Linked DNA regions of Homo sapiens: all the other regions are linked to region 1. The links are contacts of gene promoters, found by promoter capture Hi-C in blood cells and fetal thymus (Javierre and others, 2016). All regions are on one chromosome and are shown on one strand. Each heading gives the region's core, a stretch centred on a gene start or on the middle of the fragment in contact. The rest is flanking DNA. Distances are from core to core; before and after follow the strand shown. Region 1 holds the start of FSIP1 (fibrous sheath interacting protein 1). Region 2 holds the start of PLCB2 (phospholipase C beta 2). Region 3 overlaps INAFM2 (InaF motif containing 2). Region 4 has its middle 14 kb from the start of BAHD1.

Region 1 (2,700 bases), core at 184-2,683:
GTTTCTTATAAAGTTAAACATATATTTACCATATGACTCCACAATCTCATTCATATTTACCCAAGAAATGAAAACATATTCACACACACAAAAAAAAACCTGTACATGAATATTTATACCAGCTTCATCAATAATAGCCAACAACTGGAAAGAACTCATCCAAATATGCCTCAAGTAGGAAATGGATAAATATACTACCGTAGATCCATACAATGGACTATTACTCAGCAACATAAAGGAACAACTGATACACAGAACATGAATGAATAGCAACTGCATGATGCTAAGCTGAAAGAAGCCTGATTCAAAAGGCCACAGGGTGTTTGCTTCCATCAATATGACATTCTGGAATAGGCAAAATTACAGGAACAAAAAACTAGGAAGTTGTTGCCAGGGATGGCGTTAGGGGAGGGATTAAATACAAAGAGCACTAGGGAATTTGGGGTTCATGATGAAACTTCCGTATGCTGATTGTGGTGGTTGGTAATTACATAACTGTATACATTTGTCAAAACTCACAGAACTGTAGATTAAATGGGTGAGGCTTACCATAAGTAAGTTATACCTCAATTTTAAGTTAATATATTTGTGCCAATCTTTCTTTAGTTATGCTCATACATCCATAAAATATATTAGAATTGCTGAGTCAAAGAACACTTATGTTTCAAATTTTGGTAGTTCGCCAAATTGTACTCCAAAAAGGCTGCACCAAATTACACTACTTCCCCTACACTGGGCTGGGGCCCATCTGGTTATGTCAAAGCTGTTTCATCTTCTCCAGTCTCATAGGTGTAAAAGGTATCTGTGAATTTGGTTTACATTTCTTCACGAGAAAAGTTGAGTCTCTAATCAATTGTTTGCTGTTTGCATCTTTTTATTTTTCCTGTGAAATGCCTATTTGCATCCTTTGCCGTTTACGGTCTAGTTTAAATGGCTGGTGATCAGTTCTAGATCTTGGTGGGAAGATCCAAATCTCGGGAAAGTAGAAGCCTTGGTTACAGGTCCTAATGTTAGGTGATTCCTGGAGAAATAGCCTCCGCGGAGGCAGAAGCCGCTGGGGCCCCGCCCCCAATGAGCCCGCCCCCGCCCTCTCATTGGCCCTGTCCGCTCTCCCTGACAGTCCATCTACATGCCAAGCGGCCCGACGCAGCTCCGCCCCGCCCACTCCTCGGCGCACCGCCCCGCGACCGAGCTCCGCCCTCATCTGCGCGGCCCCTCACCTTCCCGCCGGGCCTCCTCGAGGAACTGGCCGCCGTCAGTCAGGGCGCAGATGGCCGCAGAAGCGCGCCGCAGACACTCGCCGCGCCAGCCACTTACCCCCAGAGGAGAGGGGTCTCTCCCGCCACCTCAGCCTCTCTGGTAGTGGAAGAAGCCGCCGGTCCAGATCCCTCCTGCCTGTGGGACCGCTGTTTCCCTGGCAACCAGATGCGCGATGCTTCCGGTCTCGCGATAGCGGAAAGGGCTGTACCATCCGGAAATGGGACCGGGGCCGGCGGCTGTTGGAGCCCTGCGAGCTGGGACGGCCGGCGTGTGTCCTTCCGTCTTCGCTGCCGACGGTGGGGGTTGGGAGCGATTTTTCGTCTTTAGGTTGGATTCGGAACGCGGACGTCTGGATGCTTGTGTATCTCTGTCCCTCATATTGCTGTGATGCCTTACAGGTCAGTTATCCTCTCCGAGCACAGTTTCCTCCTCCGTAAAATGGGAACAATAATAATTCCCTTCTTACAAGACTTGTGCAGCTCAAAAAGACCATGTATGTGAAGCTCTAGTAAATTTGGGGTGCTATGGAAATTTTAAAAATATGAGTTTTGCACAGATTCGGCTACAGTCCAAAAAGAGTTATAATTGCTTTTTGCACCTTCTTTCATTTCGTAGTTTCTCTAATTCTCAGTGCACGAAAATTATTTCCCTACGTCCACAAACTGATTTTCCTCACCTCCATTGCCATCATTTCTCCTGCTTTCCAGTCTGAACAGCACATTACCGTTTACAGGGCATTTTCACATTCATGGCCCCTTTGTCCTCATTGTTTTAACTAGGTACGATGTGGTTTTTTTTCAGCGAAGCAAATAGTCGTAGGCTGAGTTGCCGAAAGAACACAGCTGCAGTCTAGGCGAGTGCTGGGTATAAAAACCTGGCTATAAATGCCATCCCTATGCTCCTGAATCCTGCATCTTATCACCAGCCCAGACTTCCCTGAACTCCAGACTCCTTTACCTAACTGCCTATTTGGCATATCCACTTAGATGTGTAAGCATCTCAAACTTAACACGGGAAAAAACAACTTCTCCAGAGTCCCCCACCCACTTTCTATCCATCTCAGCAAATGGTAATTTCAGCCTGCCATGCCTAGACCAAAAACCTTGGAGTCATCCTCAATTCTTCTTCCTCTCTCACTCTACAATCTATTTGTCCTATCAGCTCAACATTCAAAATATATTCAGAATCCAAACATTCGTCACAACTTCAGTGCTTCCATTCAGGTTCATACTGACATCATCTCTAAATGATAAGGCTTTCTGTTGGCTCTCTGACCTCCACTCCTACCTACTGCTTTCCCCTGGTAAACCTGGTTCCAGCCTCACTGTCCTCATTGTTAGTGTTTCTGTGCAGGGATTTCTTCCCAGCATTTCTCAGGGAATTTATGTGGCTTTCCAAATCTCAAAAGAAAAAAAGTTGCAAACTGAAGAAAATGGGAGA
Region 2 (2,700 bases), core at 192-2,691, 530 kb after region 1:
ATTCTGAGCCACTTCCCTCATTCCACAGGCTCCTGGGGCATGTCACCTCCATGCCACTGCCATGCTACACCAACCCCACATCACTCCTAGGGAAGCAGGAAGCATCTCACCACAGGGCCCCAACCCATAGTCATGGGCAGCGAGATCCCCTAGCCTAGCCCAGCCCCGAAGGGCCTAGACCCAGACCCCCTCATCCCACCTCCCATCAGGTGGACAAGTCAGCACTAAGGGCTGTCTTCCCTCCCCCACCAAGCCTTCATTTCCCTTCCTGGGACAAGCCCAGCACTCTAACTCTCAGACTGGGCGAGCCCAGCAGCCTCCCCTCCCTGAAGGAGAATCTCCATATTGTTCTCTCCAGCCTAAGAGAATCCCTGGCCTAAGGTAACATTTTCAGGGGCCAGGAGAACCAGAGCCTGGGAGCAGCCCCGTGTAGGAAGGAACAGACACAGCAGAGAGAGGGCTGCAGGGTGCAGCAGTGTCTTCCCCTTCCCTTGCTGACAGGCCTGCATCGGGGAGCAATGCTGAGCCCAGCAAGGGGTAGCAGAAGTCAAATCAGCTCCTTCCCTGGGAGCAGAAGCCTCTAGTTCTCACTTAGGTCCAGGGGCCTTTTGTGGCTGCCCCCACAGCAGCGCAGGGGAGAGCAAGGCTTCCCTGGACAGGATGATGCCCAGTGGAGGGGGTGAAGGAGCTGGGTCTGAGCGCCCTGCCGGAGCAAGGGCAAGACATCTGTGCTGGGAGCGGGGACGAGCTCACCTCTCCTCCTAGCCTGCCTCAGCTCTGGGGTGCACTTTCCTCCTCTTCTCTTGGGGGTTTGAAGGAGAAGAGAAGCAGACCCAAATAAACTACCTCCAGTGACCACCCAGGCAGCTCACCCACTTCTCACACCTAGAACCAAGGCTTAGCCCTTTAGCTGGGGACATACACCCTTAATCCCAGGTTTGTTTATCCAAGCAGTGGTGTCAGCTGCCTGGCCAAACCACACAGGCGCCTGGATCCTAGGAGACATAAACCAATCCTCCCACCCAAGCAAAGCCCCGTAGCAGCCCGGCCCCCACCACCTGGTGCTCCAGCAGCTGAGGCCCCTGCCCCACTTACATCATCCCATTTGATGAAGCGCTCCCCTTGGCTCAGATAGGCCTTCACCTTGGGGGGCAGCAGGACAGGGTTGAGCAGAGACATGGTGCCAAGCGTTCCTCTTTGCAGAATCTCAGCAGACACAGGCAGGCAGAAGGGCAGGAAGGAGGCCAGCCAGGAGGGGGAGCCAAGCTGGGCTCAAATGGCACCCATCCCCGAGCTGCTCCAGAAATCTAGTTGCTCTTATAGCCCCTGGGGTGGCCCTGGCTGAGTGCAGGACTGAGCTGTAGCCAGAGGCCCATCTGCCTTGTAAATCACCCTCCTCCCACCCGCCCTGCCTGCCATGGGGGCCTGTGGTCACTGCTTCTGCCCAAGGAGGCTGAAGCAGGAAGCCCCCGCCTCTTCTGGAGGCCCCCGCCCCCACCCCCAGCCCCACCCTGTGCCTCTCAGCACTTCCTGCTCTGGGCTTCCTTCTCTGCGCTGCTCACAGCGGAGACGTGGTCATGAGGCCGGGTCGCCTTGGAGCCAGGGCCTCTCAGTCCCTGTGGTGGTCTCTGGTCAGATTTGGCCCAGGAGGGCTGGAGAAGGACGACATGGAGACCAGCTGGGGAGACTGCTGCCCAGGCCTGGACTGAGGGAAGGCACAGGGAGCTCACTAGGAGAAAGGACCTCCTCAGGGGAAGGGTCCAGAGCATGGGCATCTGACCCCAAAGGTTGGGAGCACCGTAGAGGCAGGGGTGGGGTGGGGACAGGGCCCAGCTGGAATGGAGTGTTTTGAATAAGCAAAGTTTGCTGAACACACGGCTCCTCTTTCTCAATGCTTCCTCCCCCATGAAAATGAGGTGCACCTGCCGGGCGGGCGGGTGCGGTGGCTCACGCCTGTAATCCTAGCACTTTGGGAGGCCGAGGCGGGCGGATCACGAGGTCAGGAGATCGAGACCATCCTGGCTAACACGGTGAAACCCTGTCTCTACTAAAAATGCAAAAAATTAGCTGGGCGTGGCAGCGGCGCCTGTAGTCCCAGCTACTCGGGAGGCTGAGGCAGGAGAATGGCATGAACCCAGGAGGCGGAGCTTGCAATGAGCCGAGATGGCGCCACTGCACTCCAGCCTGGGCGACAGAGCAAGACTCCATCTCGAAAAAAATAAAAAAAGAAAGAAAATGAGGGGCACATGAGGCAAGGCAATCACTCCCCTCACCCACCTCACCAGACTCCCACCTCTGGGCCTCTGGGACTGCCTGAGGCCTGGACCCCCACTGAGCAGCCCTAGCCCCTGCCTCCACTGCGCTCTCCTCTCTCCTCCGTGTGCCCGCCTCTGCTGTGTACCCCAGCCTGCAGCGGGGCTGGGGCGGAGGGATGGCTGCTCTGGTTGGCCAGGCTCAGCCCCAGCTGCTCAGGTGCCTGACCCACACTCTGCCCCAGGCCCAGGGAGTTCAGCACCAGTCCAGCTCAGCCCAGCCCACTTCCTCTTGCCTAATCTGCTCCTCTTATCGCCCTTCTTAGCCCAGCCTGGGAGGCAGGGAGCTCTACCCAAGACTTCCTTCCCCTCTGGGGCCTGGCCTTTTGCCCTGGGTCACCCCCCCATGGGGCTTTGCATACCCCCAACAACGGTAAGACCCTCACCC
Region 3 (2,700 bases), core at 106-2,605, 540 kb after region 1:
AGAGCAAGCTTTTGTAAGTAGAGTGGCAAGTGTTTTTATCTTTTTTTTTTTCCTGCTCCTCAAAATGTTGTCTTGTTCCGGCAATCACTTTTGCCTTCCCTCTTTCCTGAGCCTGTAGTGACAAAGCCCGGCGATTTGGGATGAAATCTGTTGTAACACCAGAGCTTTGATTACACATCCTCTGGTTTTGAGTTATTCTACAGAATCAGAAAGGCTGGAAGGTGGGCTTCACACTCAGGATTGTGCTTTGAGAACCAGCTAATAGACCAGCCGAGGGAAGGTTGAATTGGCTGTCTTTACTTTTCCCGATAAGCCCTACTTAAATGCAGCCTGTAATTGTATAAAGGAGATGAGAAACATCAAGAGAAATGACATACATGTAGCTCTGGGGTAGCAAGAACTAGACTTCCTCAATTTGGATTCCATTTCCTTCTGCCATTTGCTTTTAGGCAATTGAGTGTGGGTAGTGATGAGATATCAAATCCCTTAGTGTTTCCATTTTGGGAAATGAGGCACTATTTTTTTTTTTAAAAGACAACTTACCCACCTGAGTCCTGAAACAGTTTGTCTCTCCAGTTTTCTGGCCTATACTCTAGTTAGCTCTGATCCAAGTTTACAGGACAACAGCCTTGCTTTAAGCCATGTCCTGTTGTGGGCACGATAATAGCAACTGAGCTGTCACAGCCTACCAGCAGGCTGGTAACACCTCCAGGGTCTCTTGGCTAGAGCAGATTTCTTAGCAGCTGACTAGGACTTCAGTCATTGGGAAGCCTATGAGGCCTTTACATTTTTGGTGTGAGATGGGGAAGAAACATAAAATGCCACTTTACAACTTCAATAATAGCCTGTAATTTATATTTACTGTGTGAATTTTTAGTCCTATATTTTAATAATTTGTAAATTGATCTCTTATTCCAAGAATCCTTTGAACTTGTAGAACATCTGGGAGTCCACTTCCCTGTCCTCTTCCTGATCCCTGCTTTCTGGACTGTTTAAATCCTCTTTGGGATGGATCAGAGAGTCTAGAGAGGCCACTCATAGGTCCAGCTGCTGGCCTCCTGACTCTCCAAAGCCTTCACTGGAATTGGGACATTTGCTCCAGCCCTAGCTGTGAACATGACCAGAGACATTATTTATAATTCAGCCATTTAAGATATACCTGTACTCAAAAAGTCCTGTATATTTTTAAAAAGTTTTATTTTTCAGGTGAACAAAAATACATCCTAAGAACTCTGCCTAAGCCTGTGTAAGTTGATCATTTCTCTTACTGTGCTTCGTGGGGACGGAGTAGAGGTTGGAAGAGTAAGTGGTCTGAGGTGTGATGGATGGATGGTGATGAATAGGTTGAGGAGGAAAAAGCAATTGCCCTGCTGTTCTCAGTGCCTGATGGCTTGAATGAATTGATTAGCGAAGGGCGGCAGAATCCATCTTAGTCGGGAAGCAATCCCGGGGTGGAAGAACAGTGATCTCTAGCTCAGCCACCTTTTGCCAACCTTAAACAGGCTGAGAAAAAGTTGTGCTTTACCAGAGCAGATGCCTAGCTGACAAAGCTAAGGGACCAGTAAGCATGAATATTAAGATTTACTGCAAACATTTAGCTGGCTAAGCACTGAGGTGAGGATAAGCTGCCTGATAGCATCACTGTCCTCACCTTTCAACCATTGGCCTCTAGATAACTCAAGAAGTGCTAACACCAGAAAGGCAAGTGTACATCTGTGGTGCTTGGTCAGAGCTTTGTCTACCATGGAGGAGGTAAATGGCTGAGAGGTTTAGGTTGCTTCAAAGGTGAGGTTTTTTTCTTCCCTTCAAGCAAACAAAAAAGACATGTGGGTGAAAGGCACAAATATAAGGGATTAGTTATGCTGCAAAATATATGGTAAGCAATTGAGCTCAGCTCATTATTAGACAATACTGCCCGGTACAAATCCGGAGTGAGAAGCCAGTGTTGGTGGGGCCCCCTGAGGCCTGCACTTCAGCAGAGCCGTTGGGGGGTAGCTACTGTTCTTTTACATTACCTTGTAGTCTGCAGGGAGGCATGGAAAAAGTCTGCCCTTCTTTTATTTCCCTCTTCAGCCTACACAATGGCTTTCTGAGAGAGGGCTTGGTAAGGTAGAGCAGAAGGGGAGTGAAAGAGTTTCCAAGGCTCTTTTGGTCGGCCCCTCCTTTTTGCAGACAGTGACATGTGGCTTCTACAGCTGCCCACGGCGGCTTCACATGTTGGGCACATACAGCAATATGTACAGTGGGAGCCTGCTAGCCGACGAGACAGGGCCTGGTTGGCTGAGGAGCAGTGGTCTGAATAGCTTTATTTCCAAGGGTTAGAAATCAGCTGCAAAATTGTCCATCAAGTTTTAAGCCAGGAAGGAGAGATCTGTGCAGAGGGGGTTACTTTCCTTCAAAGGCTTTGCACCGGGACTACCAGGACCCTTTCTAGGTGTTTGCTTATATTAGAAGTTAACGGTGTGCATTCATTTATTCCCTGACGGCCTGAACTTGAAGAAAGAGATAAGCCTGTTTTGAAAGTGAAGTTTTGGGGGGTGGAGGATCAGGGAAGGAACCCATTAGGCTGAGTTTGTGAGGGTATCTTCACTTTCCCCATTAATGTTAAGGTACAATGAAGTGTTTCTCTGAGGTTTTAAGCATAAGAAATATTTCTCTTCCTAACAGCCCTAGATTTCCACATGGTATGAGACCATGTTT
Region 4 (2,700 bases), core at 189-2,688, 640 kb after region 1:
GCTGGTCTCAGACTCCTGGGCTTAAGAGATCTGCCTGCCTCAGCCTCCCAAAGTGGCCTCCATGCTCAGCTCTTTTAAATTTTTTATTGTTTTTGAGACAGGGCCTCACTTTGTCACCCAGGCTGGAGTGCAGCGGCGCAGTCATGACTAACTGCAGCCTTGACCTCCCGGGCTCAAGTGATTCTCCCACTTCAGTCTCTTCAGTAGCTGGGATTAAAGGCCCAGTCCGGCTATTTTTTTTTTTTTTTCTTAAATGTTATAGAGACAGGGTCTCACTATGTTGCCCAGGCTGGTCTCCTGAGCTCAAGCCATCCTTCTGCTTCAGCCTCCCAAAGTGCTGGGATTACAAGTGTGAGCCACGGTGCCCAGCCTCATTCATGTTAATGAGCAGGACTGTAATCTCTTCAATTTTTTTTCTTGTGTAGTATTCCATAATGTGGAAATACAACAATTTAATTGTCCATTCTACTGTCGATGGACATTTGGGCTGTTTCCAGTTTGGGGCTATTCTAAAACATTCCTGGCCAGACGCGGTGGCTTATACCTGTAATCCCAGCACTTTGGGAGGCCGAGGCGGGTGGATCACCTGAGGTCAGGAGTTTGAAACAAGCCTGGCCAACATGGTGAAACCCTATCTCTACTAAAAATACAAAAATTAGCCGGGTGTGGTGGTGGATGCCTGTAATCCCAGCTACTCTAGAGGCTGAGGCACAAGAATAGCTAGAACCTGGGAGGCAGAGGTTGCAGTGAGCCGAGATCACACCATTGCACTCCAGCCTGGGCAACAGAGCGATACACTGTCTCAAAAAAAAAAAAAGAAAAGAAAAAACCATTCCTGTGGGTATCTTCTGATACAGATGTGCAAGTGTTCCTCAAGTCATAGTCCCAGGAATATAATTTATCTGTTGTAGGCTATGCACCTGATCAACCTTACTAGATAATTCAAAACTGTTTTCCAAAGTAGTTGTGGGCCTATTAGAATGATGCCACCAGAGGTGACTTGGGGCAAAAGTTGAATGCCAGCCCCAGGGCTAACCCCATGAGCTTATTTTCAGCAAGGGAGAGAAATCAGATGGCAAAAGTGTGCATCTGTGCATCGCTGCTTCCCCAGCCAGGCCCATAAACCACATGTTGAACAAACCTTTATAGGCAAGCTACTAAGACCCATGCACTGGGCGACGGGCTGGGGAGATGGTAATGATTTAGCACAGACCAGCCTCAGAGAGCAACAATTACGTTTCCATTTACCCTGCCAGGCAGCCGGATGCTCCAGTTTTGCCCTGGAAGACACGAGAGAGTAAGGGCTGGATAGATAAGTGGGAATTTTCTTGAAGAAAAAAAGGTATTCCAGGCCCAGGAATATCTCAGCACAGGCAGTACCTCCGCTCCTCAAAGGTGGCCAGTGGATCAGTGGCGGAAGTACAGAGGGCTGCCCTTGCTGGCAGAAGAAGGAAGGAAGGAAGCAAGAAGACTAGGGCTACGCTCGCACTGGCAGAGAGAGACACAGCTCCAGATCCAGATCCATTCAGACACAGCTTGTGCCTTGTGCCCGTCCAGGAGCAAACATGGGTGAGCATGCACATGGACATGCATACGTCTGCACACACTTTCAGAGAGGCTGTCAGACACGCTGCAGGAGCAGAGGCAAGGAGCGTGAACACGCAGCTGCTTGTGGGAGATAAGCCCAGCGCTGGGGGCTGCCTGCCTGGCCTGCCTTGAGAGTCCCCTTGCACATCTGCCTGGGTTCCCAAGAGGCAACCTCTACAAAGACATGTGTTTTCAGGACAACCTGCCCCCTCCCGCAAAGTCTTTCTATTTACAGGAATAGAGTAGCAAAATCCCTTAGTTCATACTTGAGTCTTGTCTGATGCTGCAGGCTGGCCAGGGCTGGGCATACAGTGGGTCTCTTTACTTGTTGAAGTAGAATAGTTAAATGAAATTTACTATAAGATAAATTAAGATAACTTTACTATAAGATATATTAAGATTTAAAATAGGGGGAAAGAGGAACCTGAAATGAGAAAAGGGTAGTGAAGGAAGACTTGATGTCCTTCATAACTGGCCTGCATCCTGCCCAGCCCCTCCTTTCTTTCCAGAAGCCCACCAGTGGCCCAGAGTGGAAGGGTGGGAGTCAGACCAGTCCAAGGTTGCTAATTAAGACTGGACTGCCAGGCACGGTGGCTCATGCCTGTAATCCCAGCACTTTGGGAGGCTGAGGCGGGCAGATCACCTGAGGTCAGAAGTTTGAGACCAGCCTGGCCAACATGGTGAAACCCCGTCTTTACTAAAAATAAAAAAATTGGCTGGGTGTGGTGGCACGCACCTGTAATGCCAGCTACTCAGGAGGCTGAGGCAGGAGAATTGCTTGAACCTGGGAGACGGAGGTTGCAGTGAGCCGAGATTTGGCCACTGCACTCCAGCCTGGGTGACAGAGTGAGACTCCGTGTCAAAAAAAAAAAAAAAAAGACTGGACTGTTTGTGGGTTTTATATGACTGCTGCTTGAGACTGCTTGAGAGAGCTGAGATCTGCTCTCCCTTCCTAAGACTGCTTCCAAGGCCCGGAGCTGGCAGCAGTTCAGAATCACCACCTAGATATTGAGATCCAGCCAGTTCCAGGTCCTCTTGTACCTCTTCCCAGCCCCTCTCTCCCAGGTACCCCGGGCAAAGTATACTCTACGGTCCTTTGAGGCTGGAGAAGCA

Evidence for each region. The method cuts DNA at HindIII sites, captures the fragments that hold promoters and counts their contacts. A CHiCAGO score of 5 or more calls a contact.
Region 2: a contact is called between the fragment with the promoter of PLCB2 here and the fragment with the promoter of FSIP1 in region 1, in 1 of 17 cell types (naive B cells). The highest score is 6.9, in naive B cells.
Region 3: a fragment that was not itself captured here is called in contact with the fragment with the promoter of FSIP1 in region 1 in 2 of 17 cell types (naive B cells and total B cells); the score reaches 8.4 in naive B cells.
Region 4: a contact is called between a fragment that was not itself captured here and the fragment with the promoter of FSIP1 in region 1, in 2 of 17 cell types (total B cells and naive B cells). The highest score is 6.5, in total B cells.

Annotation. Positions count from the first base shown.
Region 1 is chr15:39,781,408-39,784,107 of GRCh38, forward strand. FSIP1 (fibrous sheath interacting protein 1) reads right to left here and starts at 1,434. Exons shown (of 12, transcript NM_152597.5): 1 at 1,221-1,434. It overlaps LOC105370941 (a long non-coding RNA gene), which reads left to right and starts at 1,499. Exons shown (of 1, transcript NR_135665.1): 1 at 1,499-2,700. RefSeq lists a silencer at 1,064-1,243 and an enhancer at 1,544-1,673. The HindIII fragment of the contact is 7,042 bases long and covers 1-2,700 here.
Region 2 is chr15:40,306,494-40,309,193 of GRCh38, forward strand. PLCB2 (phospholipase C beta 2) reads right to left here and starts at 1,442. Exons shown (of 32, transcript NM_004573.3): 1 at 1,096-1,442. The coding sequence starts at 1,179. The HindIII fragment of the contact is 15,701 bases long and covers 1-2,700 here.
Region 3 is chr15:40,325,476-40,328,175 of GRCh38, forward strand. It overlaps INAFM2 (InaF motif containing 2), which reads left to right. Exons shown (of 1, transcript NM_001301268.2): 1 at 1-1,240. Among named protein-coding and RNA genes, the nearest start is that of INAFM2, 3.1 kb to the left of the region's middle. The HindIII fragment of the contact is 2,698 bases long and covers 7-2,700 here.
Region 4 is chr15:40,425,734-40,428,433 of GRCh38, forward strand. It overlaps a transcript of IVD not described here. Among named protein-coding and RNA genes, the nearest start is that of BAHD1, 14 kb to the right of the region's middle. The HindIII fragment of the contact is 7,750 bases long and covers 1-2,700 here.